Linked DNA regions of Homo sapiens: region 2 is linked to region 1. The links are contacts of gene promoters, found by promoter capture Hi-C in blood cells and fetal thymus (Javierre and others, 2016). All regions are on one chromosome and are shown on one strand. Each heading gives the region's core, a stretch centred on a gene start or on the middle of the fragment in contact. The rest is flanking DNA. Distances are from core to core; before and after follow the strand shown.

Region 1 (6,593 bases), core at 2,025-4,524:
AAAAAGGGGGTAGGGAGGGGACAAGGAAAGACCTGAGGGGGTGGCAGTGGACAAAGAGATTGAGCAACCACAGGACAAGGTAACCAGAGGAAACAGAGACAAGGAAAAAAGATGCAGGAAATGAGGAGGCCCCAGAAAGATCCGCAGGCGCCGCCACCTTTCTCCTCATAGCCACCTCCATTCTCCTTCCCTAGGCCAACCCAGACAGAGCTCCCTCAAACCAGGGATGCTTCCTTTTCATTTATCCAGCTCAATTGAACCACACAGCCCCAGAGGCCAAGGTAATTCAGTTCTCTGTGATTTCTAGGATTCTTTCAGCCTTTTTGTTTTTGTTTTTGTTTTTGTGACGGAGTCTCACTCTGCTGCCCAGGCTGGAGTGCAGTGGCACAACCTCGGCTTGGGCCGAGATCCCTAGGGCCATTCCTCTGGCTAGGAACAGACTTGGACAGCAATGAAGAGATAACTAGAAACAAAGGAGAGAACCCTTGAAAAGGGAGCTATGCAGAGAGACCCAGGGCACCTAAGCAACCAGAGCAAGAGAGACCGCAAGAGATACAGATCCTATGAGAATGGTCGGGGGCTGGATGCAGACAGCAGGGTTGAGAGAGGTCTGAGAGCCAAGCCAGGGAGAAGGAGGGGTGCTGAGGGGGATGGGGAGAGAGGAAAAGAGAGGGAGCCTTGGAGGGAGAAGCTTGAAGAGCTGCGGGTGGTGATCCCGAGTGAAGGAAAGAATCCTGGGTCACTTGCAAATGCAAGGAGAGTCAGGAAGGCGCAAGGAGATTGGAGAGGAGGAAGAGCCTGGAGCAAGATGTGGAGGCCCAGGGCGAGAGAAGAGGCCAGCTCGGAGAGGGCAGAGCCTCATGTTAGACCCTGAGCCGGGTGGAGACACGGGCCAGGGAGAATCGGAGGCAGGCCCCACTCTGAGATGGAGAAGCAGGCAGAGGGAATGAAGGTGAGACAGAGACAGATGCAACGGGGAGCCAGGCAGAAGACAGGCAACCTGTGCCAGGGAGGCCAGCCTTGCCTCCTTGGCACCCTCACCTGTGGCCGAAGCCTCCATCCCTGTCCTTATATTCCAGGACTCCCAGCAGAATGAGGAGCTGTGTGCAAGGCAGCTTAGGGAGGACGGAGAGCAATATGTGAGAGCAGGGAGAGAAGGAGCCTGGGGAAGGGAGAGGACGGTACAGCGGAGCAGACGGGCAGGGCCTGGGGCTGAGTGAACACCTTCCTTCCTCCTCCTTCCACAGGAGCGGGGGACTACCCCCCACCACCTCCACTCCCCGCTGCCCTGCCACCACCACCTATACCAAGTGAGGCCTGCTCAGAGCACAGGGTTCCCTGAGGACAAAGCCTGGTCTTTGTCACCTGACCCCGACCCAGACTGACCTGGCGTTCTCAGCTCCTTATCATGTCCCCAGAGCTATGGGAACCAAGCAGTGACGCACTGGCCATGGGCTAACCCCCCGGCTCGAATTCTGGGGCCTCGAGTAACCTAGAGCTGGGGACAGGTGGCCTGCATCCCCTGGGGGTAATGATTTGGCATAAGCACCTGCAGAAGATGGGGATGTGGGGTCAACTAAGGTCCCTCCAAGGACATTGAGAAAAGGTCCAAATGCTCTGGAAAGAGAGGTGTGTTCCTGAGCCCAGGAATGGGGTGGCAGCGTCCTAGGGAGCTAGGGGAGAGGCCACATCTTAATGGAAAGTGCTCCTACCCAGAGAAGCTGACCCCTGTCGTCCTACCCACCTCCACACCCTGGAGCTATATTGAGAGGTGACAGTAAACTGGTGGGAGGGGGGCTGGGAGGGTGTTCCTGGGTGTGAGGGTGGGGGGAAGGCCAGAGCAGGGGAGTCTGGCTTTGTTTCCTGAACACAATGTCCACTTAGTCATAACAGGAACAGCCTGCTGAAGACCTGACACCTACAGCCTCTGAGAGATGGCAGCATTGGAGGATGGGGAGCGGGGCCTTGAGGGCCTAGGGTGCTTGAGGACACCCACAAAGAAGGGAATGTGAGTATAAGCCCTGGAGGGCTTGGAAAGGGGCAACAAAATTCTGCCTGGGGAGGGGGCAGGTGGCAGAGCCCCACCCCGATGGAATGCAGTGCCTGGGGACCAGATGGTGTAAATCCCCAGGCCTGCCAGGCACCTGCACCCTCTGGCAGCCCGGTGAGGCAGAAGGGGACAGCCCCTCACCCACCCCCCTCCTCTCTCAGGCCCTAGGATTAGCACCATCTTCTTCTGCCCACCCCACCCCAGGAGCAGAGGGTAGCAGGGGAGGGCAAAAGCCTATGTGTGCAAATGCGGATGTGCAAATGTGTGCATCCATGTACACAAAAGAAAGTAGAAAAGAAATCTGCAAGCTTGAGTGGGTAAGTGTGAAAAATCTGCATGTGTGGCTGAAGATGGGCACAGACACGGTCAAGTCTGTATGTGAGAGTGCTGAACTGGGGTTCTGTGTGAAAATCTGCCTGAGGCGGCAGGGAGAATCACTGCCATTGCGTGAGCAGGTTGGATGTTGGCCACTCTATCAGGAGCATTAGGGAAGGGGTGGGGACTCCAGACGTGTCCCCAAACCAGGGTGGCCTCAAGACCTTGGGAGAACACTTGTCTGAAGACTTGGGGAACAGAAGGAGACCAGGCATGGCACTTATGCAGACTGAGGCCAGGACAGAATTTCCTGACAAAAGAAAACTGAGCCATGGAGATGGACAACAGATCCCTTCCCTGGGCACCATACTGCAGCTTTTAGTCCCTAGCACTGGGGGCTCCAGTACTAACAGCAGGAAGATGCTCCCAGCCTGGGACTGTGTGAGGGAGGTCAGAATGGGAAGGAGAGGCTGGGGAACAGGGGAGGAAAGCCCATGGTTGGGAGGCGGAGGACAGGCATTTGGCCTGCAGGAGAAGGTGACCCTCACCCATGTTTTCAGTTCACCCTTCGGGTTAAAAATAACTGAGGTAAGGGCCATGGCAGGGTGGGAGAGGCGGTGTGAGAAGGTCCTGTCTTCCCACTATCTGCTCATCAGCCCTTTGAAGGGGAGGAATGTGCCCAAGGACTAAAAAAAGGCCGTGGAGCCAGAGAGGCTGGGGCAGCAGACCTTTCTTGGGCAAATCAGGGGGCCCTGCTGTCCTCCTGTCACCTCCAGAGCCAAAGGATCAAAGGAGGAGGAGCCAGGAGGGGAGAGAGGTGGGAGGGAGGGTCCCTCCGGAAGGACTCCAAATTTAGACAGAGGGTGGGGGAAACGGGATATAAAGGAACTGGAGCTTTGAGGACAGATAGAGAGACTCCTGCGGCCCAGGTAAGAGGAGGTTTGGGGTGGGATGCCCTGCAGCCCGTCCACAGAGCCCCCACCGTGAGGGACCTCCTTCACCAGGAGTGGGGTGCAGGTCAGTTGGAGGCCTAAGGGCTCTATTAAAACTGCCTATCTCCAGGCCCAGGGAAGTTCCCCCTGACACAAGGAGGTTCCACAGGAAACCCAGAAACCTCTTTTCTCCTTCTCTGACTCTCCATTTCTTTCTCTGCATCATTCTGAGTCTCCTACATGTTGTCTCCATCTTTCCATCTTCCTTCCTCCTTTGGATGGCTTCCTTCCCTTGATCCTGGTTTTATCTTGCCTCTTGGTCTTCATCGACACTTGTCACAATCATGCTTCTTTGTCTCTCTCCCTTGTCCTTCCTTCTTGGCACGTGTTCTCACCTCCCTGCCTCTCTGCTTCTAACCCTGTTTCCACACCCCGTCCCTCGCACTCATATTGACTCGGTGCCCTTTCTTTTCTGCCTCTGCGTCTTTCCCTTTCTGACTCCCTGGTCTGTCCTGCCTGTCTGCGCTCTGGGGCTGCCTCCATCCCCGGGTGGCCTGCCTCTGTTGTTCTTCACTCTCCTCATCTGTTCTTCTCTCTGCCCGGCTCTACCTCTGTTGTTCCTTGCTCCACCCACGGTCCAGATTCTTCAGGATTCTCCGTGAAGGGATAACCAGGTGAGAACTGCCCCCATTTTCTCTGCAGAGACTGGGGCATGCTTCTCCTGGGAGCCGGATTGCTGGACCAGGGGTCTGCTGTCCCAAGCACTCAGCGCCAACCCTTAGCATACTCCAGCCAATGCCACCCCAGGGAAACCCCTTACAGAGATTGTCCTTCAGCATCACCTCAGAGGGCAGGAGAAGCAGAGCCCTGAGTAGGGGAGGGTGCAACAGCAGGTGCCTCTCCCAGGGTGGAGGAGAGGAGCGGGGGTAGGGAGGGGGGCTGCAGAGGACAAAGCCACTCGCTGGAGCCTGGGCTCCCTCAGGAGTAACATAGCCCTCCTGTCTCTGACCCAGGGGAAGCACCAAGATGACCGATGCCCAGATGGCTGACTTTGGGGCAGCGGCCCAGTACCTCCGCAAGTCAGAGAAGGAGCGTCTAGAGGCCCAGACCCGGCCCTTTGACATTCGCACTGAGTGCTTCGTGCCCGATGACAAGGAAGAGTTTGTCAAAGCCAAGATTTTGTCCCGGGAGGGAGGCAAGGTCATTGCTGAAACCGAGAATGGGAAGGTGAGTAGGGCATGGCGCCGGGGCAGAAGGGAAGGAGGTCTGGGAAAGAAGATGCAGAGGTGGAGCCACTTGCAGGGGGAGCTGAGAGGGCTGGAGAAAAGCCAAGGCCAGTGGGGATGCCAGGACATGCTCCTTTGAGGAGCCCAGAATCTGATCCCTCTCAAATTGACCTGAGCTGGTGCAACAGGTGCCACCCAGGGCCATGTTCCCCCTGCCAGAGAGGATGCTGAGGAAGAAGAACCTCAGTGTTCGCCTAAGAGGGGTCTTGTAGATAAAGAGGGCACAGACACAGCATTAAATGATGCCCCCTTCTTGCACTTGTATCCCTCTTCCCTGTGCCTCAGTTTCCTCCATGAGTCCACTTTCTCAAATTCCGTTCACCCAAATCAAGAGTAATTCTTAGACCCAGATGAACACAAAGATCAGAAACTTTTGAGCTGAGCACTCTCCTTGACTGGCACTCAGAAGCTCTGGTCCCTGGTTTGCTCACACCAGCCAAGAGAATCACCCCTGGTTACCAGCTGCGGCTCAGGGCTGTGTGCCTCATGAACTCGTTGACTGAATGTTACAACCCATTGAAGTGTAGAATAACAGGCCACAATCCCCTGGGGCTTTTGACTCTGATCCCAGCTCTGCCACCCGCTAGTCACTGTGCAGGCAAATCATTTAGTCATTTAGAGCCACGGATTTCTCCACTATAAAAAACACTGGAATACCTACTGGCAGGATCTAATGACATCAGGGCATGGCAAACTGACTGCTGCCAATCAAACCACACCAACAGTGATGGATGGGGAGTGTGGAGTAGATGGGTGAACTACTTTTCCAGCAGGGGTGAAGGTTTGCCCTGAGCAACAGATACCCTAAAGCGCTGCCCGCGGGAGACAGCCTCGGGGTCAGCATAAGGTGTGCACAGATCTGAGAGCTGCCAATCTCCAGGTCTGCCCCAAGACCCTTGGAACATAGGGACTGAAGAGTGATGGTCATGGGCACAGGGTGTCCCCAGGATGGTCTGGGGATCTGGCAAGAGAAAGGTACCCTAGGACAGTCTCTAGGATGGGAGATACAATGGGAAGGGAAATTACCTGGGGAAAGTGTCCCAGGGGACATCGGGGTAGGGGCCGGGGCACTGGTCAGAGCAAGGGGAGCAAGGCCAAGTCCCTGTGTCCTGGGAGGAGGTCAGTGGGCAGTGCTGGCAAGGGTCCCGGAGGGATTGTGGTCACTCATCCTCCTGCTTATGCGCCCCCTCCAGACGGTGACTGTGAAGGAGGACCAGGTGTTGCAGCAGAACCCACCCAAGTTCGACAAGATTGAGGACATGGCCATGCTGACCTTCCTGCACGAGCCCGCGGTGCTTTTCAACCTCAAGGAGCGCTACGCGGCCTGGATGATATATGTGAGTGGCTCCTGCACACTGCAGAGGCTTCCTGTGCTGCGTGGAGGCCTAAATAAGCCAGGGGGGCTCTCCCAAGAAGAGGGGGAGAGACTCCCAAGGGACCCAAGTCCCCTTCCCCCCTCCACCCCTAGTCAGCTGCAGGAGGAGTAGAGCCAGCTGGAGTGAACAGGGACATGCCTGGCTGCCACCACTGCCTGTCCCAGGCTCTCCCCACCAACCTCATGCCCAGCCTTGTCTCCTGCTCCAGACCTACTCGGGCCTCTTCTGTGTCACTGTCAACCCCTACAAGTGGCTGCCGGTGTACAATGCCGAGGTGGTGGCCGCCTACCGGGGCAAGAAGAGGAGTGAGGCCCCGCCCCACATCTTCTCCATCTCCGACAACGCCTATCAGTACATGCTGACAGGTGAGCCTGGTGGCCCCTGGTCTCTGCTCCTCCTCCCAGACACCCACCCAGATCCTCAGCCCTGACCCCATTGCTTCTCCTCTTTTTTCTTCCAGATCGGGAGAACCAGTCCATCCTCATCACGTGAGCGAGTGCCATCCTCCCACAGAAGGGACTGGGCTGGGGGCATACACGCTGATGCCTAGGGTGTAGTTGGGAGGAGAGGTTTAAGGCTGGGATTGCAGGGAGCATGGGGCACTGAGCTCTCATTAGAGGGGTGCCAGAGCAAT
Region 2 (6,662 bases), core at 3,507-6,006, 45 kb before region 1:
ATACTAACTACCTGGAGTTAGCACAAATCCCACAGGTTAAAGACTTAGTCCCACAAGACTGCCCCACCTCCACATCAGATGCCAGTTACAAGTAATGGATCCCCAGGTTACCCACACTTCTCTCTCACTGGACTACAAATTGAGGATTCCCATGACCCCCTCCTCAGACTCAGTAATTTGTTTTAATGGCTCACAGAACGCAGGGAATCTCTTTACTTACCTTTACCAGTTTATTATGAAGGCTATCATAAAGGATACAGATGACTCACTGAAAAGGCACGTAGAGCAAAGTCCAGATAGGTCCTGCGCACAGGAGCTTCTGTCCCCATGGACTTGAGGTGCACCCTCCTCCCAGCATATGGATGTGTTCACCAACCTGGAAACCTTCTCAACCTCATCATTTGAAGTTTTTATGGAGGTTCCATTACATAGGCATGATTGATTAAGTCATTAGCCATTGTGATTGACTCAATCTCTAGCCTCTCTTCCTTCTCTGGAAGTTGGGCAGAGGGGGTGGGTGCTGAAAGTTCCAACCTGTTTCAATCCATTCTGCCACTGCAACAAAACCATCACAGACTGGGTAATTTATAAATAATAGAAATTTATTGGCCCGGCGCAGTGGCTCATGCCTGTAATCCCAGTACTGTGGGAGGTTGAGGCTGGCAGATCACCTGAGGCCAGGAGTTTGAGACCAGCCTGACCAACATGGAGAAACCCCGTCTCTACTAAAAATACAAAATTAGCTGGGCGTGGTGGTGCGTGCTGGTAATCCCAGCTACTCAGGAGGCTGAGGCAGGAGAATCGCTTGAACCCGGGAGGCGGAGGTTGCAGGGAGCCGAGATCGCACCATTGCACTCCAGCCTGGGCAACAAGAGCGAAATTCCGTCCCAAAAAAATAAAAGAAAAAAGAAATTTATTTCTCACTGTTTTGGTAGCTAGGAAGTCCAGGATGAAGGCACTGGCTGACTTGGTGTTTGGCAAGGGCTTGCTTTCTGCTTCCAAGAAGGTGCTTTGTGGCTGTGGCTCCATCCTCTGGAGGGGACATATGTTGTGTCCTCACTTGGCAAAAGAGCAGAAGGGCGAAAGGGATGAATGTTCTCCCTCAGGCTGTTTTATAAGGGTACTAATCTCATCCACAAGGAGGAGCTCTCATGGCCTGGTCACTCCCAAGGTCCCCAACTCTTAATAATGTCATCTTGTGGGAGCTATAGTCCAACACATGAATTTTGCAGGGACACATACATTCAAACCATAGCCCTCTAATCACATAGTTTGTCCCTCTGCCAGTCAGCCCCATCCTCCAAGGGTCACTTCATTAACATAAGACCAGGTATGGTTGTAAGGGGCTTACTATAAATAACAATAACTACCACCTCTATCACCCTGGATATTCCAAGGATTCGAGCTACTCTGTGTGAGGAACTGGGGACAAACATAAAATATTAATTTATTGTATTACACTAGGAGCTCTGTATCAGAAACCAGGGATAAAGACCAAATATATATTTCTTATCATATCACTATATCACGTACACTTCTGGGTTTGTTTGTTGAGATGGAGTTTCACTCTTGTCTCCCAGGCTGAAGTGCAATGGCACGATCTCAACTCACTGCAACATCTGCCTCCCAGGTTCAAGCGATTCTCCTGCCTCAGCCTCCCAAGAAGCTGGGATTACTGGCGTGCGCCACTATGCCCAGCTAATTTTTGTATTTTTAGTAGAGACGGGGTTTTCCCACATTGCCCAGGCTGGTCTCGAACTCCTGACCTCTGGTGATCCACCCACCTTGGCCTCCCAAGTGCTGGGATTACAGGCGTGAGCCACCATGCACAGCCCCAGTTACACTTCTTACAAAAATTTTTTAGTGGTTGCCTTAGGATTTGCAATATACATTTACAACTAATCGAAATCCACTTTCAAATAATATTCTGTCTCACGGTTAATGCAGGTACCTTATAATATAACAGAGTATTCCTAATTCCTCCCTCCCTTCTCTACTAACATTGCTATAATTCATCGAACCACTTGTTCATGTGCTCTAATCACCCAATCCATTGCTGCTATTATTACTTTGAACAAACAGTTATCTATTAGATCTGATAGGATTAAGAAAAAGATTTATTTTATCTTCATCTTTTGCCTTCTCTGATGTTCTTCTTTCTTTATGTAGATGCAAGTTTCTGATTTATGTAATCGTCTTTTAGCATTTCTTGAGAGGCAGGTCTGCTGGTGACAGATTCCCTCACTTTTGTTTGTTTGAGAACTTTTTTTTTTTTTTTTTAACTGGAGTAGCCTCCATTCTCCAAAATAGAAAGGGTCCCCTGAGGAAGTCTTTATTTTCTCTTCACTTTTGAGAGATAATTTCATTGTATTCAAAATTTTAGTTTGGGTGGATTTTTTTTTCAACACTTTAAATATTTCACTTTACTCTCTTTTTGCATGCAGATTTCTGACAAGAAATTACATTTTCATTCTTATCCATTCCTCTATAGGTAATTTTTTTCTCTTCTTTAAGATTTTCTCTTTGTCTTTGGTTTTTGCAATTTGAATATGATATGCCCAGGTATAGGGTTTTTTTTGGTATTTATCCTGCTTTGATATTTTTGTCTAATCTTCCTGCATTTATGGTTTGGTTTCTGTCATTAATTTAAAAAAATTCTCAGCTTTTTTTTTTTTTTTAGATGAAGTCTCGCTCTGTCACCAGACTGGAGTGCAGTGGCGTGATCTCGCTCACTGCAACCTCTGCCTCCTGGGTTCAAGTGATTCTCCTGCCTCAGCCTCCCAAGTAGCTGGGACTATAAGCACCCACCACCACACCTGGCTAATTTTTGTATTTTTAGTAGAGAGAAGGTTTCACCATGTTGGTCAGGCTGGTCTTGAACTCCTGACCTTGTGATCCGCTCGCCTCGGACTCCCAAAGTGCTGGGATTACAGGAGTGAGCCACTGCACCCAGCCTGCCATTATTACTTCAAATATTTATTCTGCCCATTTCCTTCTCCTTCTGGTATTTCCATTACACATAATTACATATTTTGTAATTGTCCCACAGTTCTTGAATATAGTTACTTTTCTTTTTGCATTTCAGTTTGGGAAGTTTCCATTGACATATCTTCAAGCTCATTGAATATTTCCTCAGCCATGTCCAGTCTACTAATCCATCAAGGCATTCTTCTTTTTGGTCAGTGTTTTTGACTCTAACGTTTCCTTTTGATTCTTTCCTAAAGTTCTCATCTCTCTGCTTTACATTACCCATCTGTTCTTGAATATTATCCACTTTTTTTCCATTAGAGTCCTTAGCATATTAATCATAGTTAATTTAAATTTCCACTCCAATAATGTATTAATCATGTTTTTTAATTTTCTGTATTTTATGAGGTTTTGACATCTTAGGGGCCTGCTAATCCTGGAAAGACTGCCTCTTCCAGAGCTAACTAATTTCTAGAGGCAGTAAACAACTTGCCCATGAGCATCCAGCAAACCAACCAATCCAAAGCTTGTATCCCTAACCACCTCCTTTATCTAACTCTTGCACACCAAGCCAGTACTTCCCCTGCCCTAATTAATCCCAGGGCCAGAGACCAGACAACTAGAGATCACTGCTGTAACACAGAGCCTGCTGAAATTGTCCAGACTTGTCAAAGCTAAGCTATTTACCTTGCCCTGCCTTCCTTTCCTGTGGGAAACACAATAAAGGCTTGTGTCCATGCTTTTCTCTCTCTGTCTACCTCCTGACTGAACCGGATGCTTCTCCATCTGGCCCTGTGTGGCATGAGTTGTCCCCTCCCCTTAAGAACTGTAATAAGCTCTTCTTTCAAGGCAGTTGTCTCCATGTTTGTCATTTTACCATACTTGATTGAAACAAAATCTTCAGTACATTTTAAAACAGATAATACCAAAATCTCTGCCACATCTGAGTCTAGTTCTGATGCTGGCTATGTCTCTTTGGATTGTATTTTTTCTTGTCTTTTAGCACGCCTTGTAATTTTTTGCTGAAAGCAGACATGGTAATAGGAATTGAGGTAGACTGTGTGTGAAGTTTTATTTTTATTTTTATCTGACCAGGAGTTAGACTGTGTTTAGTTTGCTGCAGCAGTAGGTGTCAAAGATTTTAATTTCTTCTAAAGTCCTTGTGTTTGCCTCCTCTGTTGTCTTTGAGTTTCCTTAGAAACTCCTTCGTAAATAGAATCTAAGCCTTGCAGCCCTGTCAGCTATAATCCACTTTTACTATTCAGGAGTCCTGTTGATGTGGTAGCAAGATACTGGGTAGGAGAGCATTCTATAGTCCCATGATTGGAGCTCAGTATTTTAGTGGACCTGTGACTCTAGACTGTAACCTTCATAATTGCTTCTTAGGGTATTTTTTTGTTTTGTTTTGTTTTGTACCTCATATGTGAGATAAGAAGTCCAGAATGAATTGTTTCTTAGGGTATTTTTTTGTTTTGTTTTGTTTTTTACCTCATATGTGAGACAGGAAGTCCAGAATGTGATGGAGCTAGATAATTTCCCTTTCCCCAAGTAAAAGAAGACATCGGCAAAGGCTTTCCCCCTGCTGGATAGGCCTTAGTTGTGGAGAAAGCTCTGGTTTTATTTCTAAATGGTCACTTTACCCTCGCCCTGCCAAACATAAGGATATTTCTCTCCATTCTTCATCATGAGAACCTGGTGGGAGGTAAAACTCATGAAAGTGTGGGTTCTCCCCTTAGACTGGGGTCCCAGGAGTTTTTAACTCTCAAGCTAATTCACGCTCAGCCTCTGGCAATTCATCGAAGTTACCATTTAGGTGTTCCTGTCAGTTACTGGTTCCAGCACCTCCTGCTTCAGGTAAGCTGGCTTGTATTCTCCGTATTCACCCGTCTCTCCAGTTTTCAGGGTGATAGTTTGTCCTGTAGCCAAAATTCTCTGATAGAACTAAGAAAAGTTGTAGGTTTTCAGTTCAGCTTTCTTCTTGCTTTGAGAATGAGAGTGACCGACTTATAATCTCTTTACATGTTGGAGTGTTCACAATCAGAAGTGTTCCCACTAGATTCTATGTTAGTAACATGCCTTCGTTTTAAACTAAAACATTTTGTACATACTTATTTTTCAACTATAAAAATGTTATATTTATTAAATTAAAATAATAAGTATTTCAATTTAATTACCAATTATGACTCTATATAGGTATCACTATAACCATGCTGTCTATATCAAATATTCAAATAAACACATTATAATGTTAAATTAGTGTGAGAAAAACGCACTGGAGCAAATCAATCTATTGACAACAACTAGTTTGGTGATGTTTGTGTATACACTAGAAACAACACATATTCTTGATATGTTACTATAATACGACAATATCTTATGTTGATCGTTGAAGTAAAACAATCCTACCAAAACAACAAAGCTGTGTTTTACCGAAAGTATTTTACACTGCTTTAGTTTTTTAAGAGCTTTATTGCGGTATAATTTACATAGCATAAAATTCACCCCTTTTATACAATTCAATTATTTTTAAGGAAAATTTACATTTGTGCAAGCATCACCACAATCCAATTTAGAGCATTCCCAATGCTCCAAAGGGATCCCTTACACCCATTTGCAGTCCATTGCCATTTCCACCACCAGCTTCAGGCAGCCACTGCCTTCTGTCTTCATAGATTTTCCTTTTCTGGACATTTCATAGAAATGGAATCATAAAATATGTGGCCTTTTCATCTGGATTCTTTCATTTAGCATGTTTTTGAGGTTAATCCATGTTACATTAATAACATGTATCAGTACTCATTCCTTTTTATTGCTGAATAATATTCCATTGTATGGATGTACCACATTTTGTTTATCTGTTCACCTAATGATAAACATTGGGATTATTTCCACTTTTTGGATATTATGAATAATATCCAAGCGTTTATGAACAAACGCTTGTTTGAACTTGTTTATATAAGTCTTTGTGTGGATATATACTTTCTTTTCTATTGAGTAAATACCCAAAAGTGGATGGCTGAGTTATTTGGTACATGTATGTCAGTTAAGCTTTTAAGAAAAGTTCAAACTGTTTTCCAAAGTAGCTGTTGCATTTTACGTTCTCACCAGCAATGTTGGAGAGTTTTGGTTTCTCCACATCCTAGCCACAATTTATTATTGCCTTTCTTTTTTATTATAGTCACACTCATGGGTATGAAGTGCTATCTCATTGAGGTTTTAATTAGAATTTCTATAATGATTGATGATGTTGAGCATATTTTGTGTGCTTGTTATACATTTGCATATCTTTGTTGAAATATCTATAAATCTTTTCTTTCTTTAACCTTGCTAATTAGCTGACTTTAAGTCTATAAATCTTTTGACTATTTTAAAATTTTCTTGTATTATTATTGAGTTGTACTTGTTCTTTATCTATTCTTAACACAAGTCCTTTATTAGAAATATGATTTGCAAGTATTTTCTTCCAGTCTGTGGCTTAGATTTTAATTTTCTTTTTAAAATTTTAATCTTCTTAATGACATCTTTTGAAGCACAAAATCTTTCAACTTTGATGAAGTCCAACTTACAATTTTGTCTTTTGTGGATTATGCTTTTGGTATTGTATGTAAGAACTTGTTTCCTAACCAAAGACTTTTCCTACGTTTTCTTCCAAAAATTGTAAGTTTTAGATCTTACATGTAAGTCTCTGAACTGTT

The links. The method cuts DNA at HindIII sites, captures the fragments that hold promoters and counts their contacts. A CHiCAGO score of 5 or more calls a contact.
Region 2: a fragment that was not itself captured here is called in contact with the fragment with the promoter of MYH6 in region 1 in 1 of 17 cell types (megakaryocytes); the score reaches 9.1 in megakaryocytes.

Annotation. Positions count from the first base shown.
Region 1 is chr14:23,404,954-23,411,546 of GRCh38, reverse strand. MYH6 (myosin heavy chain 6) reads left to right here and starts at 3,274. Exons shown (of 39, transcript NM_002471.4): 1 at 3,274-3,294; 2 at 3,939-3,971; 3 at 4,311-4,524; 4 at 5,777-5,920; 5 at 6,168-6,324; 6 at 6,420-6,447. The coding sequence starts at 4,324. RefSeq lists enhancers at 3,921-4,421, 2,104-6,593. The HindIII fragment of the contact is 15,953 bases long and covers 2,361-6,593 here.
Region 2 is chr14:23,451,552-23,458,213 of GRCh38, reverse strand. No RefSeq gene overlaps it. Among named protein-coding and RNA genes, the nearest start is that of NGDN, 15 kb to the left of the region's middle. The HindIII fragment of the contact is 2,522 bases long and covers 3,496-6,017 here.